Linked DNA regions of Homo sapiens: region 1 is linked to region 2. Evidence: promoter capture Hi-C in 16 types of primary human blood cells and fetal thymus (Javierre and others, 2016). All regions are on one chromosome and are shown on one strand. Each heading gives the region's core, a stretch centred on a gene start or on the middle of the fragment in contact. The rest is flanking DNA. Distances are from core to core; before and after follow the strand shown. Region 1 overlaps NUP88 (nucleoporin 88). Region 2 holds the start of PFN1 (profilin 1).

Region 1 (4,509 bases), core at 958-3,457, 460 kb after region 2:
CCTCTTTAAACACAATTTTCTAACGTCCTTTTCTAATTTCTGTCTCTTAAATATTGGTGTTCTCCAGGATTCTGTTGTATGCTTTGACTTTTTTCAAAATACACACTTAAATGAGAGCCTGTTAAACTATGCCTCGTTTTAACTACCATCTATATTCAAAGACTACCAAATCCTTTCTTCTAAAATGTAGCTTCTCTTCAAGGCTTTGGATCCCCATATTAAATTTGATTTGACAAATACTTATTATTGAGTGCTAGATGATACTCCCAGTGAATGATGGTTTAGTTGATGAGGCAGACATTTAACCAGAATTACTATACCATGTGATAAGTGCAACAACAGAAGGATTTATGGTGTACAAAGGAATGACAAAAAGATACAAAGATAATGAAGAAAGCTATAAAAAATAAATGAGAAAAATGAGAAAGAATGATTTCTGGGAAGGGGATTGTTGAGCATTCCAAGCTAGAGATCAGTTTATGCAAAGTCCTGGAAACATGAAAGACAAAGAACTAAGAACAAGAAAACTTATTTAGTATGATGGGAGGCAAAGTACAAGGTGGAAGGCAACGGCAAAATAGCTAGACAGACATCCAGGACTGGCTTATGAAGTACACAGTCTTGTGTGCTATGTTAAACTATTTGAAATCTATCTGCCGGGTAACAGTATATCACTAGAGGTTTAAATCAAGCGATGGAGCCTCACTTTACAAATCAGTCTGGTATTAGGGAGGAAGACATGGAAGGGTCCAAAATGGGATTTGGGGAAACTATTTAAGAAAATAAGCCAGGCAGATGGTGAAGTAGGCAGATGATGCAGTTCTGAAGCAGGGACAGAGGAATGCAGAGAAGGGTGTATAATCAGGGGTGTCCAATCTTTTGGCTTCCCTGGGCCACACTGGAACAATTGTTTTGGGCCACACAGAAAATACACTAACAATACGTGATGAGCTTTAAAAAAAAAAGAAAAGAAAAGAAAATCGCAAACAAATATCATAATGTTCTAAGAAAGTTTACAAATTTGCGTTGGGCTGCATTCAAGGCTGTCCTGGGCTGCGCGCAGCCCGTGGGTTGGACAAGCTTGGTGTATACTTTCGAAAAATTTAAATCACAAAATCAATAGAAATTTGGGACTGATGAAATGTAAGGATGAAGAAAACTTTTGGGTTTTGGGCTAACGTTACTAGGCAGATCATGGTTTGGACAAATGAGGGCTCAGCAGCAAGAGGAGAAAGGGTAAGGGAAGGTACTAAAGTTACCACAAAATCCTCCTGAGATCATGTGTGAAAGGCAGAGAACATTTCTGCCAAGGAGAATGCACTCAACAGTGAATCCTCACCATTCTGTAACCTACCGAGCTCTTTCATCTTTCTAATCTTTATGGTTTTGCGTACTCTCTTCTCTCTCCTGTACCCACTTCTGATTCTGTCTAGTGAATCCTTCAAGTTCAAGCTTTTGTAATAGCATTTCCTTAAAGTCTTCCAAGATGAGCAGGCCTACTCATTTACTCCATCACACTCCTGAAGAACCCGGTGATGCCCTGAGCACATGACACTGTACTATAGTTACTGGTTTAGTTGTATGCCCTTCTGGTAGTTAAGGAACCACATGGCAGGAACCTTGCCTTCAATCTTGTATTTCCATCTTCTGCCAGAGTGGGTCCTGAATAAGTATCTGTTAAGTCGATTTACAAGCGAATAAACTCTAATGCTCAGCCCTTAGCCTTATGCCTCTGCAGTTTTCCCTCAAATTCTTATCCTGTATAGACTCTCTCACCATGAAAGATGATTCTCATACCTCTATTTTAATTCTTCTTGTCTGTCATCATCCTGTATTTCCAACTGTCCATGGAATATTTCCATTTTATTGGTCCAATACTATCTTACACTGATTTACTTAGAAATAAATCTTCTCCCCCAATTAGCAGCCTTTACTGACCTGTTTCTGTTCATGGCATACTCCCTTATCCAAACAGTAACTAAGTCTTATTTATCCTTCCTTTGTTGTTATCTACTGTGTTTCATTTTTCCCTCTGTTCTATTACCACCCAAGTTCAAACTCTCATAAATGACAAGCTCAATTTTGCAAAAGCTTCTTTAAAAGTCTCTGTCCCAGTCCCCTCCCTAACCAATTGTTTTGTCCTTCTGTTCAGAAACCATCACTGGCTTCCTACTACCCTATTCCTACAGAAAAAAAACCCACACTCACTCTTTTAACGAGGTATTTTTAATTCCAGCAAATTTTCTCGGGACAGATACTCCAGCTTTATCACTTAATGCTCCCTACATGAATCCTCAGCTCTAGCCCAGAATGTCTAATAAATTAAGCTTGAATGACACTTGCACTTGCTTATTTTCAGACGCTACTTTATGCTGCCCTTGACAGAAATGGTCTCACTCTTCCTTGATACTTCATTTAATCCTGAATGAGACCTTTAAGTCACACATGACACCACTCCTTCTCTACGAAAATTTCCTTAACCTCCCAGTCAGAATGATCTCTCCTTCCTCGGGGTTCTTACTGTCTGTGTACCAATACTGTGGTATGGATAGTATTTTTTCATGTGTATGTATCTTTCTCCCCACAACTGGGACATAAGATACCAGATTACCACGCCTACGTGGTGTCTTGTTCATATAAGATAAACAATAAGCACTTGTTCGGATAACTAGAATTTGTGAACACAAATCCAGGCCTATCATAAGTGATTATCCAAGAATTCTATAGAACTTACCCAAATAATATGAAGAAATGAAAGGCCAAATGACCTGTACTAACTCTTTCTCAAAAATATGCAAGCCAAGCATGTGAAGGCTGCAACATTTCCACAGACTCAAAAACATGGCTCCCAAGTCCAGCCTCAATGATATCTACTGGAGCCCAAACTGAGTTTTCATTTCAGGTGGGTGACCACCTCAACTTACCTGTGTAACAGACTGATGTATGTCAGGAAAGTCTCTCCATTTTCATATAAGATGTACAGTGGGTATGCCACTACTTCATCTTTGCCGTTTTGTCCAAATAGAGTCTTTGGGACTGCTGCCAATGGCCCAAAGTCAAATGCAACTGCTGTCTCTCCTAGAGATGCGGTATACGCCCTTCTGGAAAGAGATGTAAAAACCAACTTGTTAAAAACAAAAACAACAAAAAGTAAAAAGAAAAACAAAACAAAACAAAAACACAAAATGTCTAATAACAGGAGGTGGGTATGTATGGAATTTGTAGGCAATGGACTGAAAAGACAAAAAATGATTATGAAGAATGTTAACATTTAAAAATTCTCAGCTGGGTGCAGTGGCTCATGCCTGTAATCCCAGCAATTTGGGAGGCCGAGGTGGGTGGATCACCTGAGGTCAGGAGTTCGAGACCAGCCTGGCCAACATGGTGAAACCCCGTTTCTACTAAAAATACAAAAATTAGTTGGGCGTGGTGGCAGGTGCCTGTAGTCCCAGCTACTTGGGAGGCTAAGGCAGGAGAATTGCTTGAACCTGGGAGGCGGAGGTTGCAGTGAGCCGAGATTGTGCCATTGCACTCCAGCCTGGGCGACAAGAGCGAAACTCCGTCTCAAAAAAAAAAAAAAAAAAAAAATTCTCATGAAATTAAGTGAAAAAAGCTGGCCATAAAATTATTTGGTTCTACTCTCATCTTAAATAGTTTAAATACACAGATATACAAATAGCAAAAATTTATTATATACACACACATAAATGCAAAAAGGAAACAGGAAAACACATGAAAACATCAACAGTTGTCTCTGAGCAGCAGGATCCGTAAGTTCTACAAATACTCGCAAAGCACCTACTCTGTGCCAGGTACTTTTCTAGGGTCTGGGAATATGTCAGTGAATTAAACAAATGTCCTGCCCTCTAGAGAGAGAAATACCACAAAAAGAGAAGAAATAAAGATGGAACATAAACTCAGAAAATATCATGAAAAATAAAGTAGGGTAAGAGGGTATTGATGGAGGTGCTACTTTAGACTACTTGGTATAGGAAAGACTCTGATAAGATATTTGAGCAAAGATCTGAAGGAAGTAAGAGAGCAAGTCTGTGGTTAACTAGGGAAGGAGCAGTTGAGGTGGAGAGCAAATGCTCTAAGGTAGAAGTGCTTAATGTCTGTGGAATGGCAAGGAGGCCAAGGTGCCTGGAGCCCAGAGAGCCAGGGCACAGAGGGAGGAATGAAGCTGGAAAGGCAATCAGGTGGCATACCTGTGGACCCTTTATAGGTAAAGACTCTGGGAAATCAATGGGGTATGGAGAGCAGGGAAGTAGAATGATCTGATTAAACTGATCTGATTAAACTTAGATTAAAGTAGAATGATGTGATTAAACTTTGGGTGCTGTATTGAAACAGGCTATAGCTATAGGAGATTACAAAGATTTTCATTTTCTTCCTAATACTTTGATCTATTTTTCTCAATTTTCTACAGCAAATATACATTACATGTATATCAAGAAGGCAAATCATAAAACCATGCTGTTTTTATATTTAAAATTTACTGTAGTTATT
Region 2 (4,806 bases), core at 899-3,398:
ATCCGAGCTCAAGGCAGTAAGTAATTTAAGAGGTAATGCAGTTCAGCAACTTCGAATTACAAGATGAGGAACTGAGACAGAATGGAGGGACTATCCCGTGTTCCAGCATCCAGCAGACAAGGAACACAATACTGGTCTGACTCCCTTCATGTTGGGGAATCACACAAAAAAGCACCCTCAAGATTACCAGAAGGCGGTACATTAGAGATCTTGGAGCTAAAGGAAGGGTAAGACTCAGGAACTCACTCTTGTCAGTCTTGGTGACAGTGACATTGAAGGTGGGGGCCCCACCGGTGCTCTTGGTACGAAGATCCATGCTAAATTCCCCATCCTGCAGCAGTGAGTCCCGGATCACCGAACATTTCTGGCCCCCAAGTGTCAGCCCATTCACGTAAAAACTTGACCGGTCTTTGCCAACCAGGACACCCACCTCAGCTGGCTGGAAGAGGAACCAAGCGCCCATCAAGTTAGTCAGTGCACCAAGATTCCCACCGTGTTCTCCAAAGACCCACCTGTCTTCCACTTCTGAGAACCACCCCGCCGTGGGGGCTAAGTATAAATTATATACTCAGTACACATCAATGAACTGTGAGAAACTCTGAGGACTGTGGGACGTTAGTGCAGAAAAAGATCATGATTCTGAAACTTAGAATATGGAACCAGGGAGGAAGGGATGACATACTCCTCTAGAGATTTAGATGTCAGTGTTAATGGGGAAAGTAAACCCAGGAAATAAAGGGAGTCAGTGAGGTAAGTGAGGAGCCTTTGGATGCTCAGAACTCTCCTTCAGGAAAAGCAGAAGCGGAGAGGGGAAGGGAGGGGGGCGGGCGAGGCAAGAGAAGCAACTTTGCCCTTATTTGGTCAAAGGTTCTGCAGGAGCTGTTAGGGCCCGGACGCCTGGGTCTCCAAGTAACCTAGAGTTTAGCTCCAGGTATCTCTGCTCTGAGATGAGGAAGCAGACCCCTGGGGGCTTTCCGGGAAAGTTGGAAAACTTTTGAAGGTGGACAGGGGCCAGACCCGGCAGGCCAGCTCTCGGGTCTAGGTACCCCGGGAACCTTTCCCCCCTCCCCCTTTCACCCCAAGCCCCCACATCCGGTCCCCTCCCGCCCGGAAACCCCCTTCCCCCCCCTTTTGAACTTCCGCTCCCCCTCCCCACTTCCGGGCAGTGTGGACAGGGAGATGGTGGTGGGAGCAGCGGTAGTAAACCAATATACTTTCGCTTATGCTGTCTCAGAACTTCTCACAAAGTTCCCCTGCTCCAGGCCCCGCCGGATGGCGGGAAGGGAGGGCGAGGGGACTTCCGGGATTGGCCTCGCAGGAATGTTGAATCCAACGTGCTGAGCTGGGGGGGCGTGTGGTGGCCTCGCCCTCTCTAACGGAGTTAGGAGGGGCCAGAAGCCCACAGAGGGTGGGCAAGGGACCAAGACCACGCGCCTGGGGCTCCCTTCCGCACCAGGAGAAACAATGGTAGAGGGACGCGGGCTGGCAGCCGGACGGGGAGCTGGGGGTCCAAGGATCCCCGGGTCCCCTCTCAATCCCAATCCCCAGTAAAAACTGAGGCGCGTCCCCGCCCCGCCCTGGGAGAGGCGGAAGTGGGCCGCCGCACCGGGCGCCGCGCCCCTCCCCGCCCTGTGCCCCGGATGTAACGCCCCGTCGCGGAAAGCGGGGTAGCGGGCGGGATGGGCGCCGCCGCCTGGGGCATAGGACCTACGGGCAACTGAGGGACCCACTCACGTGCAGCCGCCATTCGCGCCGCTTCCAGGGCAAGCACCCAGTCAGGGCCTCTCGCTGCGCGCCCTAGACCGCGCCCGCCCCCACCCAAGTCCCTCCCTCAGGGTCCAAACCGGAGCAGTGCCCCGGACCGCGCAGGCCTCGCAGTACCGTGATGTTGACGAACGTTTTCCCGGGGACGGCGGCCCAGACGGAGGGCGAGTCCTTGTAGCCCACGATGGCCGCGTCCTGACAGGTCCCGTCCGCCATGAGGTTGTCGATGTAGGCGTTCCACCCGGCCATGGCGCTGCTACTGGGGCTGCTCTCGGCGCTGCTGCTGGGGCCGCGGACTGGGCTCGAGCTGCCTCGGCTGGCGGGCGGGGGGAGGCGGAGAGCTCGGGGCACGCGCTGCCGTCCGGACCGCGGCTCCGCTCGCTGTGCAGCAGCCCTCGCACCGCCACTTCCTGCTCCTCCCCCCCCCCGCCCCGCTAGATTTTTATTTGCAAAGGACGGTAGGGGCGGGGCCTACTCCCCATTCCCTCCCTCCCCCACTCGCCAGCCCAGACACCGAACTTTGCAAATGCAATTTTAAAAATCCCTCCCCCTATTGCAAAATTTGCAGAGTTCGATGGAAAGCAATGCAGAAGGATGGGGGGTGGCGGGAGAGAGGTGAAGGGTAGGGTTTGCTCCAATTTGCACTGAATATAAACCAGACTTTGGTATCGGGGCAGGGAGTGAGCCAGAAGAAGGAAGGAAGGAGAAAGCAGGAGGAATTAGCAAGCTGCAAATTTAGCAAATTAAGGAGAGTTCGGGGAGCCCAGGGTTAAACGGGATGACTCCTCCTTCCCCCACCTCCGCCGAAGGGAAGGACCGGCGGGCGGCGGCGCGTGTGCCCGCGCCTGCGCCTGCGCCGGGGCCGGGAGTGCATGGGGCGGTCGGGGCCGGAGCCGGCTGCACGGGAGCGCGCCCGGCCCGACCCGTGTGGACCCTGCGGGAAAGGAAGGCGGGCTGGGGACGTGTCTCCCGCCTGGCGGAAGGGGCGGGGGCGAAGCCGTGCGCGCTGCCGCCTCACCACCCTTGATTTTACTTATTCAAGTAATAAGAAAGCAAAGAAGAGTTTGGCCAAATCCTCTAGTCGCTCTCATAGCTGAAGGCACCCACCGGGGCCACTTCTGTCCCCAGCGTCTTCTCGGGTCGTGCAGGTTGGGTTCACCAGGGCCCATTCTCAGTCTAGAGGATTGTCCCTTCTCTGGATCGGCTCTAGCCCAGGGCCTCACCCCACATCCCAGCCCCGCCCGCCCCAGGCAGGCAATGTCTGGATCACCGGCCGTGCCCCTTGGCCTGTGTCTGCAGAGGTCACAGAGCGCGGACACCCGCGGGGCTTAACAGGCGGGGCTATTTTTCGAGGCGGAAGAATACTCAAGTTGCAAGAGTGGCAACTTTTTCAAGAAGGGGAAAGTCCCACTTCGGGCCCTTTGGGTTTCTTCGCAGTCAGATGTGCGCTCACAGCCACCTGGGGAGGGCGGGACGGGCGGGACGGCCGTGCGGCGGCCGCGGTGAAACCGCCTCCTCCGACCCGCCGCCGAGGGCTGGGCGGCTTCCGGAGCCTGGGCTAGGGGCAAGGGGTCACCGAGCGCGGCCCGGGCGGAAAGGGGGTTGGTTTTCTCTCTCCTCCCGAGCGCGGCGCGCATCCCTGGCGTCCACGCCGAATCCCACAGTCCCCGACGCCCCTCGAGTCCGTGTTCCTCGACAGCCGCGCGGCTGAGTCACTGGCGGGCTCGGGCGGGGCCGCACCCGGGCACGTGGCGGCGCTCCCCGCCCGCCATCTCCTGACCCCTGGCCCACCGCACCCCTACCCCAGGGTGGAAAAATCCCGGGAGGAGCGGCCTGAGATGAGGGGGCGGGGCGAGAGGGGAGACTGGACGGGTGGCGGGGCAGGTGGCCTGGGGTGGGGGCTGGGAGGCCGCGCGGGCCGGCGGGGCGGGGAGCAGGGGTGGGGAGAGGGCGGCGGGGGTGAGTCACCGGGCGCGCGCTGCCCCGGCGCCGACGGGAAGGGCCTCCGAGTCGGGCCGAGGCGCCGTGTGTCCCCCGCCGGTCGGCTGGTATGGCTGCAGAGGAGCTCGGGGCAGACCCCGCACTGGCCCCAGAGCCGGCAAAGTGGAGATCTCTACCGAGGGCAGAGACCTACCTCCCCGCAGTGCTACAAGTGGGGCGCCGGAAGAGCCCCAGGCGTGCAGAAGCTCACAAAAGGCCACCCGTCCTCGGTCCATTCATTTTTGTTCACTGTTGATTCAGCCCCATTCATTGATGGGCTGGGGCCGTGCGCTGAGCGCCCACAGTCGATGGGGAAAGGGGCTCTGACCGACAGTCCCCACGCCGGGCGACAAGTGCTGTCCCAGCGTTATCAGTCGGGCGCCTTGCCAGCCGAAAGGGCCTGTCTAAATTCGTTTCCTGTCCCCTAACTCATCCCGGCGCTGGCTGGCCTGGAGAGGGTAGGATGGGGCGGCGCCGAGAATGGCCGTTATGAGGACCCTAAGAGGTGAGACCCTCTCGCCTTCTGGGGTGGGGGGTCCCGTCCTTTCCCCCACTGAGGACAGAGGCCCGCCCAGCGATCTGAGCATGTGTGGACGTCAATCTTGCAGCCCCTCTTCCAGGCCCCCTCCCCAGCCTTGCAGGGCTCAGGTTACCCCTGGCCTTTCCTAAAGGTCACTCATTCCTCTTGACGTTTGCAAAAGGGGAATGTAATCCTGGGGTGGGGGGAGACCCCTCATCTGTAGCCCCTCCCTTGCTCCTCCCAAAGGGTGGAATTAGAACAGGGACTGTTATTGGGAGACAGAAAGTGGGGGATAGTAGTTGACCTTTGGTAAGGGGGCAGGTGCCCAGGGCCAGAGGCTTCTGCTTCAGGCTGTAGTGGGCACTTGGCTGCCAGCCCAGTGTGAAGGGGGGAGGATGGAGAGAAAGAGAGGCGGGGCTGGCTGGGGACCGAGTGGCTCAGGGATAAATGCGCAGCCTGAGAGGGGGTGAGCTGACACTGTCCCAGCTGCCACCTAGACTCGGAGCTCCATCCAAACCTCCAGCGAAGACATCCCAGGTCGG

The links. The method cuts DNA at HindIII sites, captures the fragments that hold promoters and counts their contacts. A CHiCAGO score of 5 or more calls a contact.
Region 1: a contact is called between a fragment that was not itself captured here and the fragment with the promoter of PFN1 in region 2, in 1 of 17 cell types (naive B cells). The highest score is 5.3, in naive B cells.

The regions. Positions count from the first base shown.
Region 1 is chr17:5,405,809-5,410,317 of GRCh38, forward strand. It overlaps NUP88 (nucleoporin 88), which reads right to left. Exons shown (of 17, transcript NM_002532.6): 5 at 2,925-3,101. Among named protein-coding and RNA genes, the nearest start is that of NUP88, 12 kb to the right of the region's middle. The HindIII fragment of the contact is 236 bases long and covers 2,090-2,325 here.
Region 2 is chr17:4,946,382-4,951,187 of GRCh38, forward strand. It overlaps PFN1 (profilin 1), which reads right to left and starts at 2,149. Exons shown (of 3, transcript NM_005022.4): 1 at 1,882-2,149; 2 at 247-439. The coding sequence starts at 2,013. ENO3 (enolase 3) reads left to right here and starts at 4,738. Exons shown (of 12, transcript NM_053013.4): 1 at 4,738-4,801. RefSeq lists enhancers at 1-58, 2,939-3,108 and silencers at 1,419-1,648, 1,679-1,748, 2,019-2,358, 2,489-2,738, 3,199-3,608 and 1 more. The HindIII fragment of the contact is 10,043 bases long and covers 1-4,806 here.